Linked DNA regions of Homo sapiens: regions 1, 2 and 4 are each linked to region 3. The links are contacts of gene promoters, found by promoter capture Hi-C in blood cells and fetal thymus (Javierre and others, 2016). All regions are on one chromosome and are shown on one strand. Each heading gives the region's core, a stretch centred on a gene start or on the middle of the fragment in contact. The rest is flanking DNA. Distances are from core to core; before and after follow the strand shown.

Evidence for each region. The method cuts DNA at HindIII sites, captures the fragments that hold promoters and counts their contacts. A CHiCAGO score of 5 or more calls a contact.
Region 1: a contact is called between a fragment that was not itself captured here and the fragment with the promoter of RAMP1 in region 3, in 1 of 17 cell types (megakaryocytes). The highest score is 6.8, in megakaryocytes.
Region 2: a contact is called between a fragment that was not itself captured here and the fragment with the promoter of RAMP1 in region 3, in 1 of 17 cell types (megakaryocytes). The highest score is 5.7, in megakaryocytes.
Region 4: a fragment that was not itself captured here is called in contact with the fragment with the promoter of RAMP1 in region 3 in 4 of 17 cell types (megakaryocytes, M1 macrophages, M0 macrophages and 1 more); the score reaches 12.9 in megakaryocytes.

Annotation. Positions count from the first base shown.
Region 1 is chr2:237,943,929-237,947,093 of GRCh38, forward strand. It overlaps LOC124908001 (a long non-coding RNA gene), which reads left to right and starts at 1,534. Exons shown (of 2, transcript XR_007088146.1): 1 at 1,534-2,159. The HindIII fragment of the contact is 161 bases long and covers 1,392-1,552 here.
Region 2 is chr2:237,960,155-237,963,143 of GRCh38, forward strand. It overlaps LOC124908001 (a long non-coding RNA gene), which reads left to right. Exons shown (of 2, transcript XR_007088146.1): 2 at 1,613-1,757. Among named protein-coding and RNA genes, the nearest start is that of UBE2F-SCLY, 5.3 kb to the right of the region's middle. The HindIII fragment of the contact is 2,129 bases long and covers 504-2,632 here.
Region 3 is chr2:237,858,370-237,861,455 of GRCh38, forward strand. RAMP1 (receptor activity modifying protein 1) reads left to right here and starts at 1,254. Exons shown (of 3, transcript NM_005855.4): 1 at 1,254-1,358. The coding sequence starts at 1,307. RefSeq lists an enhancer at 1-641. The HindIII fragment of the contact is 3,458 bases long and covers 1-2,790 here.
Region 4 is chr2:237,977,538-237,980,583 of GRCh38, forward strand. All of the region lies in intron 2 of UBE2F (ubiquitin conjugating enzyme E2 F (putative)), which reads left to right. The region is part of intron 2 of UBE2F-SCLY (UBE2F-SCLY readthrough (NMD candidate)); the gene reads left to right. Among named protein-coding and RNA genes, the nearest start is that of UBE2F, 12 kb to the left of the region's middle. The HindIII fragment of the contact is 4,484 bases long and covers 1-3,046 here.

The DNA.
Region 1 (3,165 bases), core at 222-2,721, 86 kb after region 3:
TGTCAACCAGCATGGGAGGGAAGCCAAAGGGGTGCTGAGGGCAGCTCAGTGAGGGCCTGCAGGTGCCCCTCAACATGAACAGCTTGGGTGCCGTGGATGGCACATTGATGGCAGCAGGAGGCAGACAGGCTCCTGAGTGGGAAGAGGAGGGTCCCCAGTGAAGCCCCACATTCAAGCCAGGGACAGCCTGAAGCCTAGGGGCTGGGCTGTCAGTTACAGATGGAGTCCACAGCCTGGAGTGAGAACTTATGGTACTTTTTCCAGGCCCACCTATGGCTGCCCACGGTCAGCACACACTTCCTCCCTTCTAAGCCCATAAAAACCCCAGACTCCCACAGACATCAGGACTACCAGCTGCAGGAAGGAAGGGACGACCTACTTTGGGTCTCCTCAACTTGTCGGGACAACCTGCCTGTGGACAGGAGCTACCCACCCTGGGTCTCATCTCCATTGAGAGCTGGACACTCATCAGGATGCCCTGCCTTCAGAAAGGAGCTACCCACTCCGGATCTCCTCTCTGCTGAGGGCTGCATTCATCAGAACTACCTCCCTGTGGAAACAAACTACCCACTCTGGGTCTCCTGAGAGCTGTTCTGTCACTCATTAAAATTCCTCTCCATCTTTCTCACTCTCCAGTTGCCAACGTACCTCATTCTTCCTGGACATGGGACAAGAACTCACCACATGGTGTGACTGAAAGAGCTGTAACACAAACAGGGCTGAAACATGCCCCCCAACCCCCCACTCACCGTGTTGTGGGCAACAAGAAGGAGAGAAGACCTGTGGCCCTTCAGGAAGCCCAGACATAGGGGGTCCCTGAGCCAGGGCTGTGACACCTTCTTTGGAGCTCTGTGGTTCCTGGTATTGCCAAGCTTCCAGGCACCACCATGCTCCCCTCGTCCAGACATAGGTAACCACAGAGGAAGCCGCCTGCAGTACATCTTATCCAGATGCAGCCTTGCACAGAGTTGGTGCCTGTGCCAGTGCCTGGAGCTGCCTGTCCCATAGCAGCAGCCAGTTCACCTGGCTGTGCACAGTGGCTGGACCCCACACTCACTCCACTTTGCTACTGGCTCACCCTTGTCAGGTGTAAGATCCCGGCCAGTAGCACGAGCTGAGTGCAGCCTGCCAGGCCAAGTGGGCAGAATGAGCCAAGTGGGCCTGAGCAAAAACTCAGGCAAAGGCACCACCAGCCACAGAGGTTTCCAACTGCAAAAGCAACAACCTAAGGATCCTGAGGCAGCTTGAGAGACAATGGAGAGTAAGACAGCAATAGACAGAGGCAGGGCTGTGGAGCGACGCAGGCCTCCAAAGAAGAGAGAAGTTTCCATTCCTGAAGCCTTCTGGAATCTGAAGTTTGCTGCCTGGACTGCCCGGTTTTAGTGGAAGAAAGCTTGCATGGGTCTCTGTTTGTTGCTACCAAAGACTCTTGGCTAGAGCAACGTGGATGAAGGAAGGTTGAACCAAAGACATGACAGTGGTTCCGAGGGGCTGGGCAGCCTTTGTGGCCTCCCACCACCACCTCAATTAAGCCAAGCGGTGGATGAAGAGAAGCTTCTGGGCTGTCAAGTGCCTGCTTCTTAAAATCACTTTGGAGAACCCAGGGAGTGCAGGAGGCAAAGCAGCGCCCCCTGCGTGAGTCATCCCCATTTGAGCAGCCTTCCCACCCCGACCTGAGACACAAGGCCACACTTAGCATCGAGGGAGACCAAGTGATGTACCCAGCTTCAAGCCAGGCTTTGTTACAGAGAAGAAAGGAAGGGTAGATGTTGGCATAGCAACCAGCATTGTCTGCAACTCTCTCTGCTGCGTGTCTCCCCATCAGATGCCCCCTGGGAACAGGGTGCCTGAGTGCGACTCTTAGGCCTGTATGATAAAACTGGACTTCTAATTCCCTCTTTCACGTAAATCAGAGCCAGTCATATCATTTCTGCCCACAACCCAACAGCCGTAGCGAGCCACAGGGCCCTACCTGACTGCAGATGGCTGGACGCATGGGGAGCAGAAGGAAGGTAATGAACAACACCACCTCCACCAGCCTTTAACAGGAGTGACGTGGCTCTACGTGCGCTTACAGAAAAGGCCTTCAAGACCTGCCGTTAGCTGGAAAAATAAGAAGAGCAAGCTACAAAACTCACATAGAATATGATCCCACTTGGGTAAGAAATGGTTCAATTAACCCTTAATAGGCCAGGCATAGTGGCTTGTGCATGTAATTCCAGCACTTTGGGAGGCCAAGGCAGTGGGTTGCTTGAGCTGACGAGTTTGAGACCAGCCTGAGCAACATGGTGAAAACTCATGTCTACAAAAAATACAAAAACAAGCCAGGGGTGGTGGCACATGCCTGTGGTCCAGCTACTCAGGAAGCTGAAGTGGGAGGATCACTTGAGCCCAGGAGGTGGAGGTTGCAGTGAGCCAAGAATGTGTCACTGTACTCCAGCCTGGGTGACAGAGCCAGACTCTGTCAAGAAAGAAAAGGAAGGAAGGAAGGAAGAAAGGAAGGAAGGAAGGAAGGAAGGAAGGAAGGAAAGAAGGAAGGGAGGGAGGGAGGGAGGGAAGGGAAGGGAAGGAAGGAAAGAGAGACAGAGAGATGAAAGAAGAAAAAAAAGAAAGAAAGAAAGAAGAAAGGAAGGAAGGAGAGAGGGAGGGAGGAGGAAGGAAAAAGAAAGTGAGAGAAAGGAAGGAGGGAAGGAAGGAAGAAGGAAGGAAGGAGAAAGAGAAAGAGAGAAAGAAGGAAAGAAAAAGAAAGAAAGAAAGGGTTCAAGATGCAGATATGGACACATGGCTATATTAGCTTCCAATTGCTGCTGTGACAAATTACCACAAACCTGGTGAAAACAACACACATTTGTTATCTTACAGTTCTGGAGGTGAAACATCTAAAATCGAGGTGTCACCAGGGCTGCATTCCTTCTGGAGGCTTCAGGGGAATCTGTTTCCTGTGTTTTTCAGCCTCCAGAGGCTGCCCGAGTTCCTTGGCTTGTGGCCACTTCCTCCATCTTCACTAGCAGAGGAGCATCTTCAGAGTACCCTCCCTCCCTCCCTCCCTCCCTCCCTTCCTTCCTTCCTTCCACTCTCTCTCTCTCTCTTTTGACAGGGTCTCGCTCTGTCACCCAGACTATCATAGCATACTGAAATATGAATCCACTGGGCTCGAGTGATCCC
Region 2 (2,989 bases), core at 318-2,817, 100 kb after region 3:
TCCCCATGCACAGACCTTATTAAAAGGAGCCCATTGTTGCTGTAGGTGAATGATGACGATCTCAATCCTATCATCAGATTTAAAACACCACTCTGACTCAGTCCCTCTCCAACAAAGCCATCACAGCCCACTGTATTATTTTTTTTTAAGAAATAAAAAGAAACAAGCTGTATTCCCTGGAGGCCAGTTGCAAAAGCAAAACTTAATTATACCAGTTATGTAATTAAAATTATACTACTTAGAATTTTCAATTGTCTGCTTCCTGGATGACCCCTTACTAAATAATAATAACGATGATAATCTGAGCCCCCATCTGCCCCAGCTATGGGAAGTTCATCCCTCCCTCATGCCACGGAGGACCCCAGAACTGGGACTTGGGTGTCACCTCTCAGCTTCTGCCCCTCAGACAGCCTCACAGCACTCCACACCACCTCCGGCTGCTTTGTAGTCTCATCTTTGTCCTCCTCTCCAGGTTAGACCCCAGGCCCCAAAAGGCCCAATAAAGCTTTTCCTAACAGAAACACCATTTACCTGTCTCCCCTTTTAGCAAGAGAATGAGCTAGTGGGACATGGGATTTTTGGCATTTATTTTCAGCTTCCTCAGTTGAATTCTAAGGCAAGGCTTACCGTCAGCACAGTTCTCTCTCCCTCCTTTCCCCAGTGATCCCTAAACTCATGTGGGTCAGTGGAGGCTTTGTTCCCCCCTGTCTGGAACAAACCTTAGCGGCCACAGTTGTATCCCTGCCCCTATTCTGTGGTGGTTTACTAAATGCTAGTTTCTCCCATTAGCTGAGGCTTTTGGAGGGCAGGGTCTGTCCCCAACGACACTCAGCCCTTGACAGGTACTTATTATATAGTGCCTGATTTGGATTGAAGTAGATTTGAGAAGGCTCCACAGGGACATGGGGCCTGTATGTGTCCAGGCCTGCACTTGAGTGTCCTGGGCCTTGCTCCCCAGGAACACCAGATGAAGCCGGAGGGCAGATGCACACCTGGGAGTAATCTAGAACAACACAAAACAAGTGGAGCAAGGGCTGGCCAAGGGCTGTGTTGCACCCTTTCTCCCATGTCTACTCCCACGGGAGTTCAGCATCCCCTGGGCTGTTTCCCAATTCACACAACAAGGGCTTGCACCTGGAACATGGCTAAGGTCTTGCCTGGGGTAAGGACACTGTGTCTGGAGGAAGGGGCATGAGCACTGGACCCACTGGGCTTGGTGATGCCAGCTCACCCAGACTGCAGATCGTACCTCTGGAGGCCAATCTTCCACTGAAGCCCGGAGCCAGGAATGCCTACCCCAGTGGGGAATGAATGGAGTGTGCCCCACCCACAGTGAGGGCAGGAGGGAAGAGTGGAGTGGACGGCTAAATGCAGTGGATGCCCCTCCAGGGCTTTCCTGGAAGCAAGGGACACAATGTTTGTTTCTCCAAAATTCATATGTTGATGCCCTAACCCACAGTGTGCTGTATTTGGAGATGGGGCCTCTATGAAAGCAATTAAGGTTAAATGAGGCCCTAACCTGGGGCCCTGACCTGGCAGGATTCGAATCCTTATAAGGAGACAACAGAGAGCTCTCATGCTTGCGTGCCCACTCTCTCTCTCTCTGCCCCAGCACACAGAGGCCGTGTGAGCACAGCCAGATGGCGGCTGCTTACAAGCAAGAGGAGGCCTCAGAACGAACCCTACCTTGCCAGACCTTGATCTTGAACTACCCAGCCTCCAGACTGTGAGAAAATAAACATCTGTTGTGTAAGCCACCCAGTCTGTGGTATTTTATGGCAGCCTAAGCAGAATAAGATGCTGGCAGAGGCCACTTTTCCTGCCTGGGAGACCCTTCCCTCACCCCACAGGTTCCCAGGTCCCTGCACCAGCCCAGGCCAGAGTGCTGCCAGCCCTGGACCAGGCTGAAAATATAGATAGCCCAGGCCATCTCCCCTTCCACATCCTAGCTGGAAGCCTCTGGGGTTGAACTTACAGGGGTGAGGGAGGAAGGGATGCGAGGACATTGTCTCCCCCTGCCCTTCCTTGGGCAACAACACTCCTCTGTGAGGCTCACAGTTGAACTTCCACCCCACTCCCACACACACACACAGTGGTTCTGTGACTGAAGCAGAGCCAGTCCCTCCCAGAGAACATGAAAGTTACAGTTAGGGGCACCAGCCCCCTTTATGTCCTGGATTGTGGAGATGTCTGAGCCCAGGCCCTAGCTCCCTGGAGGCACCTGGTAGGGCAAGGCCAGCCCACAGAGGCCAGGACTCAGGTGACAGGCCTGCAGGCAATACACTCATGGCACCATCTCCAGCTTCCCAGAGCTTACCTCAAGTTCTTTGTATCAGCTGCCTCAAGGTGTGCTGGCTGAGGGCAAATCTCAGAGTCAGACTGCCTGGCTTTAAATCCTAGCTCTGCCATTGTTGGAAATGGGAGTTCGGTGTGGCAAAATCAACACTGAGACAAAGGATCTCTCAGCAAGGCTAGTTTAGTTTCTGCAGAAAGGGTGCCGCTCGCTAGCAGTCTTGCCATGAGAGCACACCTGAACAAAGGAGATGGGGACATTTATAATCTTTGTAACCTGATGCAATCGTCCTATGGCTGTGTCCCATTTCCATTGGCCAGAATGGGACCTCACATTCTAAGCTTGACCTGATTGGCTAACAGCTTGAAACTTTTCTAAATAGGTAAAGAGGAAAGAGGACAAAGGAAAGAGGAAGCTAGTCATGAGAGGGTCAGGAGGGTTTCCAAATAAGCTATGGCAGGCACTATGGTCCCGGGCTGCCTTAACCCTGTCCAGGCATGCCAGGTCAAGTCAGAGCAGCTGCACTGGAACATATATAGATATGCATAAAGCAAAGAAATGACAAGCTCTTTATGGTTTTAAGAAACTTTGAAGAACTTCTCTATTCCTCACAGCCATGTTGGACATGTAAACCAAAAATAAAATTCTAAGCCCCCTAATCGACAGAATGGACCCCTCCTCTTGAACAAGGGGATT
Region 3 (3,086 bases), core at 4-2,503:
CTCACCCCTCACTCTCAGAACACTTGGGGCCCCTGCACAGGTGGTAGGCATGCTGGCCCTGAGTGCCCTCCCAGCCTGTGTTAGAAGAACCAGTGGATGACCTCGCTGTCAGCTGTCTCCCCTTCTCTGAGCTTACTGCAGGTGGCAGCAGCCTCTCAGCCACAGACTGTTCCCTTTCCTAGGAGAAAACGATGGTCACTCAGCAATGCTGTGCGCTTGCAGCTTCCACCACAAAAGAGACAGCTGTGGCCGCAGCACCAGGGTGGTGATTCTTCCCCCTCCAAGGGCAGTGGTGCATTCCTTAGCACAAGTATAAATTTACTGTTGCTAAGAGTTCTCGGAACAGGATAATACAAGAAGGAACCACTGCAAGTGAAATCCAGCCACCAGTAATGCCGAGAGGCCAGGCCTGTGCCTCCCAAAACCTGCTCCTCCGCAGGCTTCCCCGGCCCATCTCCAGAGCGCCCTCCTCTCACCACTTTACATAAACGAATGTACCCAAGATCCCCCATCAGTTTTCCATGCAGCTGCCAGAGTGCCACCAAAGCAAACCTCATCTCAAGACTCTGTGGCCAGGCCCTCACAACCTCCTGCCAGGCTCTCGCTACCTACCCATCAACAGCAAGACTCCCAGGCCATCTCAATCCCCCCAAAGAGCCCTGTTCCTCCAGCCCCACGGCTTCTGTTCACCTGCCGTGCTGTCCCCGCCTCTGCCCACCCACTCATCCTGCAGATCTGGAGCAGCATTCCAGGGCCTGGTAAGTGTGCGCCATTTTGGGTTACTACGGGTCTCGCCAGGCGCGGTGGCGAGTTTTGCCCCCCACGCTCCCCAGCGCCTGCACCTGGGCGGAGAGGTAGATAAGGCTGGGAGATCTTAGCCTTTTGCAAGGCAAACACCAGGCAGGAACGCCCAGAACCTCGGAGGAGGAGGAGGGGAAGATCCCCAGGTGGAGACCAAGGTGCCCCTCACGCTGAGTCGTCTAGGAGACCCTCCCTAGTTTAAAAAGTGTTTATTTGCTCGGAGAACATTTCAGGAGGCCTTCCTGGGACCCCAAGTGTGCCGCCCCCCGGGAGGGGCCTGGAGACGCCCGCGCGGCCCCCCTGCAAAGTTTTACCGGCCCTGGGCGCCCCCGGCCCTGGCACCCACGCGGGGAGCCGCAGTGGGCCGGGCCGCGCGGCCGCCGCCTCCCACCGCTCCCGCGCCCGCTCCCGCCCCCGGCGCGTCTCCTCCGGGCCCGCGCCGCGGCGGGCTCAGTCCTCAGCGGGGCGCGTGGCGAGCGGACTCGACTCGGCACCGCTGTGCACCATGGCCCGGGCCCTGTGCCGCCTCCCGCGGCGCGGCCTCTGGCTGCTCCTGGGTGAGTAGGTCCAGGGGTCCCGGCCGAGCTCCCTTCCCCTGGCCAGCCGGTGTCCTCTAGGGGAGAGGAGGGGAGCGGGTGGGAGCGGGTGGGAGCGGGTGGGGGCGGGCGCCGCGGGCGCACAGATCCGCTGCCCTTGAACGCGGGCCGCCCCGGTTCCAGGCGGGAGGCCCCAGGGCACAGGGGAGGCGGAGGGCGCGGACCGGTGTTGCGCTTCTCGCCGGGGAAGGGACGGCTTTGGGGACGTCGGAGAGCGGGCATTCTGGAAAGCGTGGGGTGAGTCAGCCCTGCACACTGGAGAACTAGTTTTCAGAAGGAAAAACAGGACGCGGGGTTCCCCAGCCCCGCACCTCGTTTCTCAGGCTGTGCGCCGCGGTGACTGCCAGCGCAGGCTCCCTTCCCTAGGCCGTCCCGCGTTGCAAAACCTGCAGACGGGCACCTTGCAGAAGACGCAGTGTTCGGGAATCAGAACCACAGCCGGTTTGTATGGAAATTAGTCAACACTGACAATCTGTCGCCTGCAGCAGTTGCTTGTTTGCAAATCACGTCTTTTGCAGAAATGAGGCCAGCCCTTTTCGGGACACTTCCATCGCTTTTTTTCTTTTTTCTTTTGGTTTGCTTGTTAACTTGGCACTTTTGGCTAATAGAAATTTAAAGAAGGACGGGTCCCTTGGTGAAGTGGTGGAACACGTTTGGCTTTCCACTTGGAGGGAGAAGTGGAGATTAGCGGCAGCCTCATGGCCACAGGAACTGGCCACACACTCGGCAAGAAACGGTGCTGTTCACTTCCCTTGTCTGTAATGTGTTCCTAAAATGCTAACTCAAGCCCCTTCTAAACCGCTTTGGCTATTGCATTATTCCGTGTATTTAGCTACCTTTTAACGGAAACTGTGAATAGGTTACTGGCGTGGGAGAACCCAGTGTCCCTGGGAAGGCCGGAGCAGTTGTTTCTGGTATGTGTGGCCTTTCCCCGGAAACAGTGATGTTGGTCAGAGGCACCTGCCGCACAAGACCTCTTTGGCGCTGGCACTGGGCAAGCAGGGACCACCGGCGCTGTTGTAGCTGGGGGAGTGGTTCGTGGCCCAGCGAGGAGAGGGGCCAGGGCTTCTTGGGAGCCATGGATTTCTGTTCCCTATTTGTAAACCTCTCCAAGGGGTGGCAGATCTGCATAGAATCCTCAGAGGCCGATATAATATAATCTGAAAGCGGATCTTGCCACTTTAGAGTTTTGGCTGAAGTTACGTGGAAAGCAGAATCTCGCAGTAATTTTATTCTCTCCATTTGGCTTGACATGGCCTTCACTGTTTTCATTTACTAAGAAACAAACATTTCTTTGTTAGCAAGGCAGAGAGCTGGGTTGTGGAATATTTTTTACATAAATAACCAAATAAATAAACGTTCTTTACTAGTGTCCAGAGGCTGAACCCTCTAAAGCTTGTGTAAATAAAACACTATGTCACGATCACATATAAAGACCTTCCTTGTTTACCGAGAAAACTATTCATGTTCTGCCGAAAGTCCAAAGTCCTGTAATTTTAACGTTATTTTGAGTGGCCTGGCTAATGTTATCTCTTGGAAGAACAAACAAAACTTTATGAGGTTATCAGTAAATTAATGTCATTGGAGCCCAGCTGTAATTAGTAGAATTACTGAGCACAGGCTGTTTCCTTCCCAAGCTGTAGCACTAGCCAGGTCTCCTTGGTGATGAAGATTTTGCTACCAAGAATG
Region 4 (3,046 bases), core at 202-2,701, 120 kb after region 3:
GCTTGTGGGGTCCGCCCCTAGAGTGCTCCTTTGTTTAGCTTGCTTTGTGGGTGGCTTGTTGACCCTGGTGGCAGTCTGGCCTTCTATCCTCTGGGGAGTTATGGCGGAAGTGGTGCTGTGGAGGCTGCTGTGGCTGTTGGAGGGCATGGCAAGGCACTTTGAGGGGTGATAAAGTGAGAATCCTTTCCAGGTGAAATCCAAACTCCCTTTTGGGACTTTGAGAAAAGTAGAGTGTTGGAGTTCAGAAAGATTACTATAGTCAGAACTGTCATCGGGTACTGTGGCTTGTGTAAGGGTGTTATTCACAAGCATCCATAGGTGGTAGAAATTTGTATCAATATGTCTGGGACTTCATGCCATAGGCTGGGTTTCCTGAAGAGGAGGTAGGGAGTTTGTCATGCAGGATCCTTACTAAGGGGTACCTTTGGGACAATACCTGTGGGGTAGGCGAGGGAAGCAACAGCAGGCAGAGGGAGACTCAAGCAGCAAGGAAGGCCCCACGACAGCCTCTGCTTTGGAGCAAGAGCAAGCGCAAGCACAAGCACAGCCCTTCAGAGCTGTCCCCAGTCTGGTGAGATAGTCAGGTTTTCCTGCTCTGCAACTGTCATTCGTTAGATGAGGGTTGCCTGGGACAGGTGTGGTGTGGAGTGCAGGTCTGTGCAGCCACCAAATCCCTGAAAGGGCTGATTGCTGAAGGCTGCCTGCCCACAGCCCTCACTGAGGGGATCTGGGTGCTGCTGCATCACAGCGCCTGGCTCATTGCCTTGCTCACCTGTGATGTGGGCTCTGATGTGGTGCAGATGGCAGTAGGGCTGAGCTTATAGGAGGCAGGAGCTTGTCCCTGGGGAGGGGTGCGAGGAAGGGCCAGTGGTATCTGCACAACAGAGGCCCCTTCTTTTTCTTGGAAGAGTGAGCCCAGTTCTGAACAGTGATGGGAGGCCAGAGTCAGCTCTCCTGGCTCGATTCCAGGTCTCTGGAAACATGTGGCCTGCTTTGGAGTGGCCGGCCATGGGGAGGCCTCCAGATGGCCGCAAGGGCTCCCCGCTCAGCCACACCCACATTTCCTCAGCATCCTCAGTCCAGTTCTGAGGGCACCCTCTGGGCTGGAGCTGGAGTGATGCTTGTAGCTGCATTGCCTGGAGGGTGTAGAATGATGAGTGTTTTGGGCTGCTGTCTCTCCTGACTCCAGAAGCTGGGGTCACTGAGGAGAGAGAGTCAGATCTGCATTTGAGCTGGCCCTGACTTGGGTCCAGGCCTGACTGGAGGGCTGGCCATTGCCAGTGTTGTTGTTGGCATTCCCTGTGAACCTCTGTGTGACTGAGTCCATCAGGGTCTGAGTCCATGGTGCTCCCTACCCCCCAAACACCCCTCAGGGCAGAATTAATTGCTTTCTTACCTGTCTGAAGTTTGGCACTGTTTCCATCTAATAGCTCAATGCCTGTCTGTCTCCCTGTTCTTTCACTTGTTCACCCAACATGCATTGTAGTGCCAGCATACAGTTAGTGACCCCCAAAGACCTCAAGGGTCTCCAGGAGGTCTGACAGGACCCTTTGCCTGTGTCAGTCTTTGTTAAATGTGGGGATTTGGAATTGAGCCATTTCAGGGTCAAGTCTGGAGTTAGGGGAGCTAAAGGGGGTTGATTCTGTGCGTACCCCTTGTCCCAATCAGCCCCTGAGTCCCAGGTGGTTTCTAACCTTCTCTTGTTTTGGCTGATGGGAGCTGGGGCAGTGGGAGGGTCTGGCTGCCCATCTGCCTGAGCTTCCCAGTGTCTAGGATGCAGGGGCCTCTCTCTGTGAGGGTGCCTGTGTCTGCCTGAGCAGTCCAGTCACAGGTGGGACCCCTCACCTTCCTATATGAGGTCTGCAACATGTCCCCATTTCAGTGTTGGGGGAGAAAGAGAAGCATTTACTATTTTCTGGAACCACTGTCTCCAGCGTGTCCTGGCGCGGAAGTCTAGCAGGGCGGGCTCAGGGTGTGGCATGCCACATTGTCAGGGTAGTCACAGCATTTAGCAGTGTGTGCCGCTGGGAGGTTCTGTGCTACAATACATATTTTAAAAACTAGAGCAGTGGCCCAAGGGGAGGATGTAAGGCAGTTGGCCACAGGCTGACCTTTAGATGCTTTGTTGGAGGGTTAAATGCCAGTGGAGCTGCCCCGGGAAACTTGGCAGCCCCTCAGGTGTACCACATAGCCCACTGGGCAGGGAGGACCCTGTGTAAGCATAGATGAGGGCTCAAGTTGACATCATCTGCATTTGTGTTCAAAGTAAGTGGTAGGAGACCTGTGGGCTCCATTCTTAGTGATACCAGGCTCTGCTACAGGGGCTGTGACTGCTTTTCAGAGCTACAGCCTTGCTCCTCCAGAGCCTGGAGGGGACCATGAGCACTGTGGGCCTGCACTCTGTAGTGTGAGGCCTCAGCCCTGGTGGTGCTCTCTCTGGAGGGGCTGAGGCCCTGTGTGTGAGTCGAGTGTCTCCCAGCTGTGAGGCATGCAGAAAAGGTGGATTTGAGGATTTTAATGCATGAAGGCAGTGGGAAGCTAAGAAATAAAGTTCTAGTTCTAGAAATCTGTGAGGCAGTGCTTCAGGTTTAAGGAAGTAATCAGGTCACCTGGAAAGTGGCAGCTGTCTCTACCTAGGTTGAAGGGCTCAGCAGCTCTGCCTAGTGTTGTCTGATGGGGCTTGGAGCTGGCTTTTGCCAAGAGTCCTCTGCCTGTGTGACCAGCCTTTTGTCTTTGTCAGCTTGGGCTGCTGTAACAAAGGACCATAGATGGTTTGGCCTAAACAATAGGCATGTGTTTCCCTTCTGGAGGCTGGAAGGCCACCTTCAAGTTCCTGATGAGAGCTCTCTTCCTGGCTTGCAGATGGCCTCTTCCTGGCTGTGTCTTCACGTGGAGGAGAGAAGGGGAGCTCTGGTCCCTCTTTGTTTTTTGTTTTTGTTTTTTTTAAATAACAGCATGAATCCCATCATGAGGCCTCCACCTCCATGATCTGATCTAAACCTAATTACCTCCAAATACCATCACATTGGGGGTTAGAGCTTCAACA